4 separate regions of the Homo sapiens genome follow, and all the other regions are linked to region 3. Evidence: promoter capture Hi-C in 16 types of primary human blood cells and fetal thymus (Javierre and others, 2016). All regions are on one chromosome and are shown on one strand. The core of a region is centred on a gene start or on the middle of the fragment in contact, and the rest is flanking DNA. Distances in the headings are between cores, read along the strand shown. Region 1 overlaps SLC35F1 (solute carrier family 35 member F1). Region 2 overlaps MCM9 (minichromosome maintenance 9 homologous recombination repair factor). Region 3 holds the start of PLN (phospholamban). Region 4 overlaps MCM9 (minichromosome maintenance 9 homologous recombination repair factor).

What was found. Contacts are between HindIII fragments. The CHiCAGO score rates a contact against its expected background, and 5 or more counts as called.
Region 1: a fragment that was not itself captured here is called in contact with the fragment with the promoter of PLN in region 3 in 3 of 17 cell types (endothelial precursors, erythroblasts and fetal thymus); the score reaches 5.5 in endothelial precursors.
Region 2: a contact is called between a fragment that was not itself captured here and the fragment with the promoter of PLN in region 3, in 6 of 17 cell types (fetal thymus, activated CD4 T cells, naive CD4 T cells and 3 more). The highest score is 7.4, in fetal thymus.
Region 4: a contact is called between a fragment that was not itself captured here and the fragment with the promoter of PLN in region 3, in 5 of 17 cell types (fetal thymus, total CD4 T cells, naive CD4 T cells and 2 more). The highest score is 7.2, in fetal thymus.

The regions. Positions count from the first base shown.
Region 1 is chr6:118,273,359-118,276,513 of GRCh38, reverse strand. It overlaps SLC35F1 (solute carrier family 35 member F1), which reads right to left. Exons shown (of 8, transcript NM_001029858.4): 5 at 899-1,055. Among named protein-coding and RNA genes, the nearest start is that of PLN, 270 kb to the left of the region's middle. The HindIII fragment of the contact is 8,984 bases long and covers 1-3,155 here.
Region 2 is chr6:118,888,654-118,891,754 of GRCh38, reverse strand. All of the region lies in intron 8 of MCM9 (minichromosome maintenance 9 homologous recombination repair factor), which reads left to right. Among named protein-coding and RNA genes, the nearest start is that of ASF1A, 3.9 kb to the left of the region's middle. The HindIII fragment of the contact is 2,382 bases long and covers 416-2,797 here.
Region 3 is chr6:118,546,384-118,549,808 of GRCh38, reverse strand. PLN (phospholamban) reads right to left here and starts at 1,513. Exons shown (of 2, transcript NM_002667.5): 1 at 1,417-1,513. The region is part of intron 3 of CEP85L (centrosomal protein 85L); the gene reads left to right. The HindIII fragment of the contact is 6,726 bases long and covers 1-1,757 here.
Region 4 is chr6:118,906,851-118,909,909 of GRCh38, reverse strand. All of the region lies in intron 8 of MCM9 (minichromosome maintenance 9 homologous recombination repair factor), which reads left to right. It overlaps ASF1A (anti-silencing function 1A histone chaperone), which reads right to left. Exons shown (of 4, transcript NM_014034.3): 4 at 739-2,508. The coding sequence ends at 2,296. Among named protein-coding and RNA genes, the nearest start is that of ASF1A, 14 kb to the right of the region's middle. The HindIII fragment of the contact is 1,544 bases long and covers 1,035-2,578 here.

The DNA of each region.
Region 1 (3,155 bases), core at 160-2,659, 270 kb after region 3:
CAAAATTTGGTGGATTGTTGAAAACAGCCTATTTGTAAAACCTGTTTAAGGTGATGCTAAAATATCTTCCATAAATAATTTCAGACACTGAACCCATGCAATTAGAAAGTGCTTGCTTTGTAGAAAGAGATTGGTGAAATCAGAATTACCTGTTTGTAGAAAGGGATTCAGTAAAATTTGACTGGAGGTTATACTATCATTCTTCATGTCTTTCATGAAGCTAAAATATTGGTCTTTACTGGTGGAAAATTGCTTTGATTGAAACTTATGCTCATAACAAATTCTGAGGCAATAGTCAGGGATGACTTATACGTTCCAGTTGTAGAATTATTGCAAAACTGGTGCTTTTGACTTTGTGATGCTTAGTGAATGTCTGTATTATAACTTCACCTTTTTAAGGAAAATAGAAATGCTAAATTCTAAGAGATAAATTTGAAATATGGTCCACTCTTGCAAATCCACGGGCAGTAAAATCACACATTTATAAAAGGGTAATTTTATACTATAAGTTTTCTATTGGTGGTTGTCACTAGTAGACAGAATGTTCCTTTTTGGAAATGCATTGAATTGGGGCATTTATGCTTAGTTTTTCTACTTCTCTAAGTAATAACCCACTCATGGATTTCAGAGAATCAATCCTAATGCTTCTAATGCTTTCCTGCAAATTATTTACAATGTTTTATAAACATTAAGTGTTTTGTAAAAATTTATATTAAACTTGTTTAATTTGGAGGTGATTTACTAATAAAGATATTGAGTTGGCAGATTACATAAGTCCTTTGTACAGGAAGCTGGTGTCTGGATTCCAGCCTTGATTTTTACATCCCAAGAACAAAAATTGTAAGAATAAGTCTTGACAGTCCCTCTACTATCTATATTTCTTGTTATTTTTACTCACAATTGAATTCCACTGAAAAATGCTCCAAAGAGACCAATCATTCCCAGGAATTCCACTCGGCTCAGAGTTCGGATGATGTATTCTTCCCAGACGTTAGAAATACCATAGAGTGTGGCTCCTCCTAAGACCAGAAGGTCCCCTACCAGCTTATTTTCCCCTAGGAACCAACCAAACAAACAAACAGAGGGAGCATCATTAAAACTTTCTTAACAAGAATCTGGCATCGGCAAATTGAGCTTCCCTTGCCTATTCTATTTTGACATTTTTATAGAAGTCATGCAATTTCCAACTGAGATTTAGTAAAGTTTATCTGTGCTCTAGACACGTTCTGATATAAAAAGTTTGCCTATGTTGACACAATTAGAAGTCTTCTCTAAGAAAGAGATCAGTCTCTTCCAGATCACACCCTCTCTACAAAGCCCACTATCTTCTGTCCAGGTATCAGATTTTCACTTATCAGATTTATACAAATATGAAGTGGCACGATCTCGGCTCACTGCAACCTCCACCTCCCAAGTTCTAAGGGATTCTCCTGCCTCAGCCTCCAGAGTAGCTGAGATTACAGGCACCTGCCACCACACCTGGCTAATGTCTATGAATATATGCTAATACATGCACAAGTTATATTGGTTTCAGGACATTTTCCAGCAGTTTAGTGAACATGGCATAGAACAAACAGAATCAGTATACATTTCCACCCTCTGCTATTCAGGGAGGGAAGCTATAACAGAAGCCGTCAAGATTGCACTTTGACCATGGGCAAAATGTGTAACTGTTAGAAAATGAGAGTGAAAGGATTTATGGGTTGAAATTTTCAACTCCCCTGAGGTAAGTAACATAAGAGTGTAAATATATGTAATTCACTATCACATTAATATTTTTTCATTAAAAATTCTTTTTGTTTTAAACTCAATTTTGGGCTGGGCGTGGTGGCACACGCCTGTAATCCTAGCATTTTGGGAGGCCGAGGCGGGTGGATCACCTGACATCAGGAGTTCGAGACCAGCCTGGCCAATATGGCAAAACCTTGTCTCTACTAAAACTACAAAAATTAGCCAGATGTGGTGGCGGGTGCCTGTAATCCCAGCTACTTGGGAGGCTGAGGCAGAAGAATCCCTCAGAACCCGGGAGGTGGAGGTTTCAGTGAGCCGAGATCATGCCACTTCACTCCAGCCTGGGGGAAGCGTGACATTCTGTCTCAAATAAATAAATAAATAAATAAAAATAAACTCAATTTTGGTTGATTTAAAACAAAATAAATGCTTTACCCAGGTATTTCCTAGAATTGGGCAAACTTCCCACTCCAGGAAGTATGGAGCCAGGGAAGGAGGAGAGCAGAAATAAGCAGCTAGAGTGGCCTCACTGGTGGGCTCTGTACCCAAGTGGTCTCTGGCTCTGTCCTGCATAAGTCAGCAGTGCAGGAGCTCAGCTGACCTGCAGCTCTGGGGCAGTGGAAGTTGAGGATGGAAAGGGTGCTTACTCCAGCATGATTCTAAGGAAAGGACTCATGATAGCTTAGCCCTGGATTCCCCGATGAGCCTGGGTTCTCACTGTTCAGTGGGGAGCACTGAGTGTTTTTAGGTAGTGGCTTCACATCAAAGAATCTGGGCATCAAAGAATCAGTGGCTTCACATCAAAGAATCTGTGGTCACCTTGGAAGATTCTATCTCTAAATGGTGCCACTTTTTCTAAGGCAACTTCTTTTTCCTGTCAAGGATTGGAGATAGAGGGGAAGAGATCCTGAAGGCAGCATTGTGCTGGAGTCATCCTCAAGGGAATGGAGCTGAGAATGGGATTTTGTGAGAGCTGGAAGTTCTCTTTGGGTTCATGGGGAGTTAGGCATCACTGCCCAGGAGATGAGCTGAGAATCTGATGAGGCCCTAATGAGAAACCAGACTTGGTGAGAGGTCCCTGGGCAGATCTTTTAGGAAAATTAAGGTTGCTGTGACAGAATGTGAAATCTTTGGCAACCTGATTAATCTTTTTTATGTGTCAACTATAAAACAATGACAAACTTTTAATTTTAAGTAGTTCCTCTGAAGAATGACCCATAAAATAGAATGTATCTATAACTAAAATTGTAAAATTATAATGAACATGATCCAGTCTCTTCACTCAGAAGACATTTTAGAATCTTGTGATGACATGGGGTCATTATTATGAATATCAATTATTGTTGTACTAGTGAAGTGTGGAAGTGCTGCATAATATAACTCTTGGTTAATAAATTTAATGTTATAGAATGAATTGAAGAAAG
Region 2 (3,101 bases), core at 357-2,856, 340 kb before region 3:
AGTTAGTTGTTGTTTTAGACTGAATTATGTCTCCCCCAAATTCGTATGTTGAAGCACTAATCCCTAGTACCTCAGAATGTGACTGTATTTGGAGATTAAGTTAAATGAGGTGATTGGGGTGGGCCCTAATCTAATCTAGCTGGCGTCCTCACAAGGGGAAATTTAGATTTACAGAGAAGCACAAGGGTCACACGCACACAGAGGAAACACAGCAAAAAGGTGGCCATTTGCAAGCCAAGCAAAGAGGCTTTAGAATAAACCAAACCTGCCAACACCTTGATCTTGGATTTCTAGCTTCCAGAACTGTGAGAAAGTAAATTTCTATTGTTTAAGCCACCCAGTGAGTGATATTTTGTTATGGCAGCTCTAACAACCTAATATAGCTATAAGATATTTTTCCCCTCAGAATTAAGCTTATTTGAGCATCTAATCTTACTGAATCCAAATATTGGTCAGTTCCCAAGCACTTCCTGTGGGTGAAATGATGTGGTCCTTTAGCCATGCCAGTAAGGGTGTGGCGTATGTGGAGTGGTGTGCTGTTGCCATTCTTCAGAGGAAGTATATACCACTGGGCATATAGCTTGAATTCTGAAGACACAAGATGCAGCTTACTTGCATGGATTCAAGACTCCTCTACAGAGAAGTGAAACTTGAAGTCAAATTGAGGTCATACACAAAACAAGATGAAAGAGCGAATTCAAATATACTAAAATTGAATTAAATCAAAATGTGCCAAATTAAAATACATTAGAACTAGGAATTAAATTGAGTGTCAGCCCGTGTCTACTGCAAAAGTTATCATAGGAATGGAAGTACTAACCTCTAGCTTTTGTTCAAATCTAGATTTCCACCTCGGGTAATCACTGTGTTGAATTGTCTTCTCATTTGTATTATTACCAACTTAAAAAAATTCCTCATGTAAGGCTTGTTTTAATATGGTCTTTAGTTAGTTTAAGAGGCTCCTTTTTATTTATTAGAAATAGGATGTCAAAATTTAATGATAGTTTTAAATAAAATTTTCTGTATAAATATAGACTAGAGATTTGATGGAGTTCATAGACATTTCTAAATGGAGTAAATTGTACAATAATGATTTCAATAATAATTCATTACATACATACAGAGAGCATTTGTTATGTGAAATTTTTATGCTAGGCTCTGTGAGAAATAGTCAAAGATAAGACATACAAAGACCTTATGGTTCAGTAGGAAAGGTAACTAATCAAATAAGTATGATGCGAAATAGAAAGTGTTAGATGCACCTGTAACCAGTTATGTTAAAATAGGCAAAAGAAAAAATGTTTTCTTGACAATTTGTAAAAAACTTTAAAATACCTGTTTTTGAGCCTCACAAACAGGAATGGCAGGAGGGTAAGATATCATCCCATATAACAAATGAGGATGCTGCTGCTCAGAAACCCATTCCTCTGATGGCTGTCCTAGTACCTTTGTACTCTCTACCATGTCAAGTAAATTTTAAAGTGGGCTTTGTATGTAGAAAAAATAGATTGGTATCATTTTCTGGAAGAACCCACAGGCTGGCGGACACTCCAGTAATGACTTGATTAATGAACTCTTGAGGAACAAAGCTCCATTAATGAGGTTGGTCCAGGTGTATACTGGGAGAGAGAAGGAGACCCAGCCAAGGCAAAGCTGGGGGAGGCTCCCCACGGGGTACTACAGATGTCAAGCCTCCTGTTGAAAAAGGCATCCCTTGGAAGGTGTGGGGGATGGAGCTACACATCCTGGAATGCATCCTTATACTTTTTATAAGGTTTCCATGTCTGTTACATAGCGTACCCTCTCCCCTTCTCTGCTCCACGTCATTAATAAAAGTTTCACTGTTTTGTGTTCTTTTCTACCCATCATTGTGTTAGAAGTTTGTTGAAGGTATAAGCTATATCTGATCCCTTATCCATAGCTGGACTATACTGTAAAACACCTTTTGCATAGCCATAGGTTACATCAGTCAGCTTTCTGAAGCACTGTAATTACATTTATTGACAGTTTCTTGGTGTGTATATCATTATGTTGTTTTTGACCATTTTGAAGGGAAATGCCTAATAATTATTTTCTGTTTCTTATACCTAGTTTTTTGTCTGTGTCTTCTTAGTCCTCTTATCAATCAAGGTCTTTCTAAACTCGTTTCCTCTTGAACTCAAGTCTCTACTTGCAGTCCATCTTCCTTCATGTTTTATAATATATTCCATCCTTTTCTCTCTAACCCTCTACTGCTCTCATTCATCAGAGGTTCACTTTTTAATACCAGGAAAAAAAACAGTAATCGGTAGAGAGGACTCAAATCTTTAAAACATCTCTAGGCTAGACCACTGCTCGTACAAAGCCATTACTAAGCATAGCAGCTTTTCTAGTTGGTTACTATAGAGACAAATGACATTAGATGGAGTGACGCTTGGCAGAAGCTAGGCATGTAGGCTTTGTGAGATTGGAGGCCTCATATGCATGGTCATTTAGAAAGAGTCAAAAACCAGAAAGGATAGGGAGGGGAAATGCTTCACAAATGAGCTAATAGGTAATTAATTGGTAGAAATTTGGTTGGTAGAATTTGTGCCTGATAAGGCTTTGAATCCGGCATGCAAAGAATCCACCTCTAAGTACCCCCTGGTATGATTACACAGTAATATTTTTCAGGTAACAGCTTTGTTGAGATAGAATTCACATAACATGTAATTCACTCATTTGAAGCATCTGAGTCAATAGTTTTTAGAATATTCAGAGGTGTGCAACCATCATCACAATCAATTTTAGAGTATTTTCATGATCTCAAAAAGAAGCTTTGTAGCCTTTAGCACATCCCCCTCCCCAGCATATCCCCCAAGCAGTAGGCAAGCACTGAATTACTTTTTGTCTCTATAGTTTTGCCTATTCTAGACATTTCATATAAACGGAATCTTATAATATGTAGTCTTTTATGACCAGCATCTTTGAAGCATAATGTTTTTGATGCTTCTTTCATGTTGTGTTATATATTGATGCTTTATTCCTTTTTATTACCCAATAATTTTCCATTGTATAGGTATACCACGTTTTATTTATCTGTCAGTTGATGGACATCTAGGTGGTTTCTACTTTTTGGCTAT
Region 3 (3,425 bases), core at 264-2,763:
GATATAGCAAAATTCTGATACAATAAAATAACTCGTGAACACCCAATTTGAAGTGTGAGAATGTAATTTGATAGATATTTGAATAAAAATGCACAAATAACATAAGACACCTACACTGAATGACTTTTATGTACTATCAAAGGAAAAATATGAGTATAGAGATATGGAGACACAATTAGGATACCTCAGTGGTAGACAAAAATTATGTTTTTTTATGTCTTAAGGAAAGCTGCTTACAGAGTTACAAAGTTCTTATTTGTAGTGAGCAATAGAATTAACATTTGTCATAGGAATTGAGAATTTTAGAGATAAATTTTATTTTAACATATATATGAAATATGAAAATCAAAATAAATAAAATATATGTAATTTTCTGTATGCCCTGACAGAGATCTAAGAATGAGGAAACGTTTCATTTACTAAATTGAGGATTGTAACATAAAGAATAGGGTAGAATTCAAACAGAAGTCATAAAATTGATTGTGGCATCTCCATTCCTGGCATTTATTTTATTTTTTCCTTTCTTTCTAAATCCGAGAGAGGAAATGGAGTACCACTGGAGGATAATAACTTGACAAAACTATAGGCATTAATAGGCAGAAATCCATTTAATCAAATTTGTGTGAAAATAAGATAGTTAAGAATATTCGTGTGTCAAAATAACTTTTTAAAGTATCAAATTATTCTCTAACGTCAGATTTTTTGTGTTTGTGAACATTGTTTTAAAATTTCTAAACTTCTTTATGATACAATATTGAATTTAATATCAGTAACTCAATTTATTAATAGCATGGAATTTTTTTAGAAATGTTTGTTAAAAGTTGACTGGACTTTAGAGGGGAAACATCCTCAAGGGCACTTTAAAAGTAGCTTGTATTATATATTCTGAAACTCCATTTCATTATTCACTGTATGAAATTATGATAATATTGGAATAGGCATGCTGATAATGTGCATGTTGTAGTCAAATGACTATTCATATTAGTTCAGATGTAAATAGCTCAGTTCTGCACTGTTTCTCAGCAGAGCAATAAATAACAAAATTAAGTCATTGTTTTTGCATGGAGAAATTAACCACTACTACCAAATATGGTAACATAATTGGAAGATTTTTTAATTGGCAGAAATTCACATTTGAAAAGCAAAATAAAAGTGAAAGATAAATTTAAATGACAAACCAGTAACCAGGATCAAAGATGAATATGACCTTTTTCATTTCAAAGTTGTCTCATTTTTCCTGTCACTAAATGGATAAGCATTTATAAATTTAAGCACTTTGTCATGTCATTTTATTGCCTAAGATTGAACTGATATTCATAAAATTAACTCATTTTAAAAGTTCAGATTATAGAAATTATAGGAATTAAGAATTATAGAAAGTAAGAATTACCAAAGTCAGCGAAATCTGTTTCTTACCTTGGCAGCTGTGATCATCACAGTATAGAGTATTGTGTTGTATGAAGTCTTACGGGTGTTTAGCTGGGGAGTTTTCTGACTCTGTCACCCAGTTTATGGGAACAGTTGCAGTAGGTGGAGGAGAAAAAGTGTTCTAGGGAGGTCTTATGATGTCACATAGGAATTCTGAAGTTTCGATTGGTTAGCCACAGTCTCAGTCTTATCACAACCAAACTTTAGAACTTCTTACTTTAGGTATGGAAAAGTCATTAACACTTTGTGCTTCATCTTTTGTTTTTAATTTAAAACAGTATATGGTAGATAAATGAAAAAAATAAGTAAACTTGAGGTGGTGGAAAGCTTTTGTTAAAGATTCATGCATCTTCAGGCTTAGAGATAATTGAATATTAATGGTGAAGATGTTGAAGAGCTAAAATAGTTACTGCAGGAATTTTAATTATGAGAAAAATAAACACAGGTATAAGCAAAACAACTTTCATTGAATTCTTGCTGCTGTTGCTTTAATACGTGTCTTCATAATGTTAGCTTTTAGTGAAAGTGAAATATTTTTACACAATAAAATTTTATACCTGTTTTCTTATTTTGTTCTTGTTCTTGTGTGTATGGGAGAAGGAGTATGAGAAAATCAGGCTAATTGCTTTTTGTTTTAAAAAATTATTTTTATCTTACAGTTAAAGAACTAATAAATGTATTTAATTCATTTGTGTTTTCTTCAATTAGCAGTTTAACAATATATTTGTGAATAGTAATACTTATATTTAAACTGATACATACAACACCCCCAAAATAGCAATATGCTACTTTAAGTATTTAAGATTTTTTAAAAACAATTGCATTAAATTATTACACAATCTTACCAAATTTTTAATAAACTGATGCAGTATTAAGGGCAACTTTATGGCAAAAAAGAAATAATTACAGATTCCAAATCAGTTACATCTCAGTTAATGAGGCTTTATAGGTTTGATGTGTTGAAATTTAAGTTTTGTAATGTTTTTGAAAGGATGTGCCTCATTTAATCTAGCAGTTGCTTTCCTGAAAATTACTATAAAAATGAGATGCTAGTAAGTGAGATGATATTTTGAACTTCCTAGAACAGTTTATCTTACAGTAGAACTGGGGAAATAATTTTTTTGTAAAGCCGGGCATCATTCTCCTCTTCTCTGTTTATCTAATTTGTTGTCTTAGATGTTAGATTTACTTAAGTCACCACACTCGAAAATATTAATTCTTAAATCTCTTCTTTAATTTTAGAGGAGGTACTTGTAATTTTTAATTTTTTAAATGCTTATGACAGAGTGAACTTAGCCCACTTCACTTTCTTATGGGTAACTAAAATGTGTAGCAGCAGCTGCTTACATGCCCTTAAATGGAAATGATCTTGGCTTCTTCCAAAGAAAGAAAATCCATCTCTAGAGCAAATCATTTGATATTTAAAGAGTCAGCTTAAAACTAACTGAAAAATAATATTTTAGCAAAGATATCCTGTGAACATTGCCAAGGGAAAATTTACAACTTAAAAGTAAAACCCAAGTTAAGGAAATTGCAGAATAATGTTTGATACTTTTCTCAGTGCTACAACCATTTTTCTTTCAATCCTTACATAATGAGGATCTCTCAGTACTATCAGTTACCAATGATGATTGATAATACAAAACCGAGAAGCCTAACGAGGTTTACAGTAATTTGTCAGAGATAACCAGCTGCTAAAGAATAGACAGGATTCAAATCCAGATCTGTCTGTTTATAATTCCTAATCTGTTGGCATGCTGTGGGAAAAAATTATAATTTGAATATAGCTTTCATTAGAGTAGCATATAGTAACTGAGAAATTTTTAAGATGTAAATAGATGCATTCTTGAGCACTGTTAATAGTTTTAGAAAGTCTGCTTTAAGTTTGTCTACCAGTTACACATTCATTTGAAATTTAGGTGATAGATCATTGTTCTGAGAACTTCTCATTCTAAGAAAATAGAATTAGTAATACTTAGTTGGATAAACCAAGAAGC
Region 4 (3,059 bases), core at 557-3,056, 360 kb before region 3:
CCTGACCTCAAATGATCCACCCGCCTCAGCCTCCCCAAGTGCTGGGATTACAGGCGTGAGCCACTGCGCCCGGCCCTAAGTTTTTTATACCATGGATTATGGTAAAAAGTTTTGATAACTGCTGCCATAGACATTCTTGGGAAAGCTAGAAACCCCAAATCCTAAAATTAGAGGGTATAGTTATATGGGAGCCTAAAGTTGTATAAGGTTATGAATGGGCAAATAAATGCATGCATACTTCTTCAGACCTCTGGAATGTTTTCTCAGCCCAAATAATACCCTTAATGCCTCCATCTTAGTGGCATAAGTCATTGGTTCATGTTTATATTCTTAGGACACAGCTATTTACTATGAGCAAAAGGGTGGAAAATAGTTCTTCAGATACAGTATTGGCAAATGACGCTAGACCGGGTGGAAAAAAAACTTATGTGCTACAGTTTCTTACGTTTCTAATGTTTGAAGTCTAAATCTATTTTCAGTCATTAAAAAAATTCTTAGAGTGATAAAATTTAAGATAACAAAAGGTAATGGTTCGCATGTCCCAAGCTTAAGTGAAAATTGGTTGTCCATTTACAACTTGATACAAAAACCTAACCCTTTGATGTCACTACAAATAGATTGTTATAATTAGTCAGAATAAAAACTCAGCAGTAAATGGCTTTATTTGGTGATTTGGCTGTATATGCTTTATTTCTAATAAGCACATATGTTGTTCCTATTATATTAACCACTGAGCTCTTTGTTGGAAAGTAATGCTTTTATTTTCATTTTAATATTTTAACATTTTTCTTTTAATTGCAATTAGACAAATGAGATTTTCTTTATATAGTTTTAACAGTCAGAAGTATTTTACTTTTAAAATCTATGAACTAGTTAATGGACAATATTTTAATAATCTGGTATATTAAATTCAAAGTTTAACATCTGGCAAAACTTTGCTTCACAAATTCACTTTTTTAGAATGATAGGAAATATATACAACTCAGAATCCATGTTTAGACAAATGCCCTTTTCCTTTCCTCAACATAAAAGCTTTAAAAAGTGCAGTATAAAAGTTTTAGATATGAAGGCACTGCATAACCTGCATCATATGGCTGTCTTGCTTAGCTGCAAGAATAATGAAAATATTCTACCTCAATTTTATGGAGCATAAGAAAATTTTTTGAGGAAGGACTTAACTCTCAAAGAAAAAGAAACCTTTTACCCCATTTAGTTAATGAATTCCTTTCCAAGATTGCTTTTCAAAGATTTGTTGGAAAAGCTATCTAGAGTATGTCAACCACAAATATGCCTGATCTCATTCTGCATGAGTGTCAGAGGAAATGGGGAAGAGTACTACAGGTGTGAAAATATATATATTTCCAAAATAGTAACGTATCTATTATAATAAAGCTAAATATACCTTTCTAAATCCATGGTTTTTATATAAATACTGCCAATAACATGATCTATTAAAAGAATTTTTAAAGGTCATGGTATTTTTAGAAATCAAATGAACCAATTTGAGCCATTGTAATCCCCTATTCTTAAACACAGGGAGTTTGTATTTTCTCCCGATATTGTATTTGGTCTTGAATTCACTGGACAATAATGATGTATGATTCAAGAAATGCTCTGATATTCTAAACTCTGTTATAAGAACAAAAACCATAGCCAGGGGACCTTATTAACAATTAGCCATATTTGTTCTTCTCTTACCAAACAAACCAAATGCTGTCCAACATCTCATGAACTATAATAGTAGCCATAAGAGGCTTCACGGTGGCTTGGAAAATTGGATCCTAAAGTTCTTGGTAGCATATAGTTGATTTCAAATCCTCTTTTTAAGGACATGCCAAAAAAGAATGGAAATCTGCCCCTTAAATTAAAATGATACCATATGTCTTCACAGGAAGAAACATTTTAGTTGAAGTAAACTTTGTTCTTTCAAAGGCCAGTAAAATAGTGGTCCAAAGACTGTCTGGGAGGCCAAGACATCTTTACAACCTGGTCTAATGATTCCTGTTTCTTTATAAGTGCTTTCATTACATATAAAGGAGAAGAAAATAATATATATGCTTTAATCAGATTAGTTTCAGAACAAATAAAATAACACATTAGAGAAAAAAATTACTTAAAAATAGTTGTATTTATATTCCACAATTTGTTCAAATACTGGTTTTCTTATAAACTTTCTACAGGATGTTTTTAAACAAATTCTTCACATTGTGTTTTGACTATGTACTTACGGAATTTCAGGGAAATAGTTCTGTGTATTTTTAATAGCTTAATTTGTACTAAAGGGATGGTAGGTGGTCACATGCAGTCCATGTGGGATTCTAACATGACATTTAGTGAGTTTTCTGATGTGGACCATCCCTTTGATGCTGAAGGTAATGCATCTGTTGAAAGAAGTGACTGTAGATTTGGATTACTGCTCTCTGCATCTTCCAGTTTTTCTGTGTTATCTTCCCAATTAATGTGGAATCTTGTGACCCTGGGATTAGATGCCAAAATATTCCTTTGAAGCTAGAGGAAAAAGGAAACATACAAATGGTAAACACTAAGAAAGTTAAATCACCATATACAAATAGAAGCTTAATAAAATGGTTCATGTTAGTACTCCTAAAGGGCTAAGTTCATATACAAAGGTATAATTCAAGTTAAGTACCTTAAATATAACTAATAAGATGTAACGACTAGGGCTGTAGCAAAGAAGTTATTTTAGATTAACAGAAACAAGATACGGAGAATCTGAGGGGATTCATCTGGCTTTTTAACTATTTAACTCCTATACTTCTGTTTTCTAAAAGAAAGAATCTCCTCATTTTTGAAAATGAATGCTTCAGAAGATGCTTTATTTAACAAGCTACTATGTTGTTTAGATTGGTATGTTTTCAAAGGAAAATGAAAAATTGTCAAATACAACTTATTATTAATGGTTTCCTACACCTTTTAAAGATGGCTCATTCTTAGAAACAGTCCTGTTTCTTTTGTGCTATATAAGGTGCTTCAGGGATAACAAATTGGATCAATGGAAGGTACAACAAGGGTGAAAAATAGTCCGGCCTTATTATCAG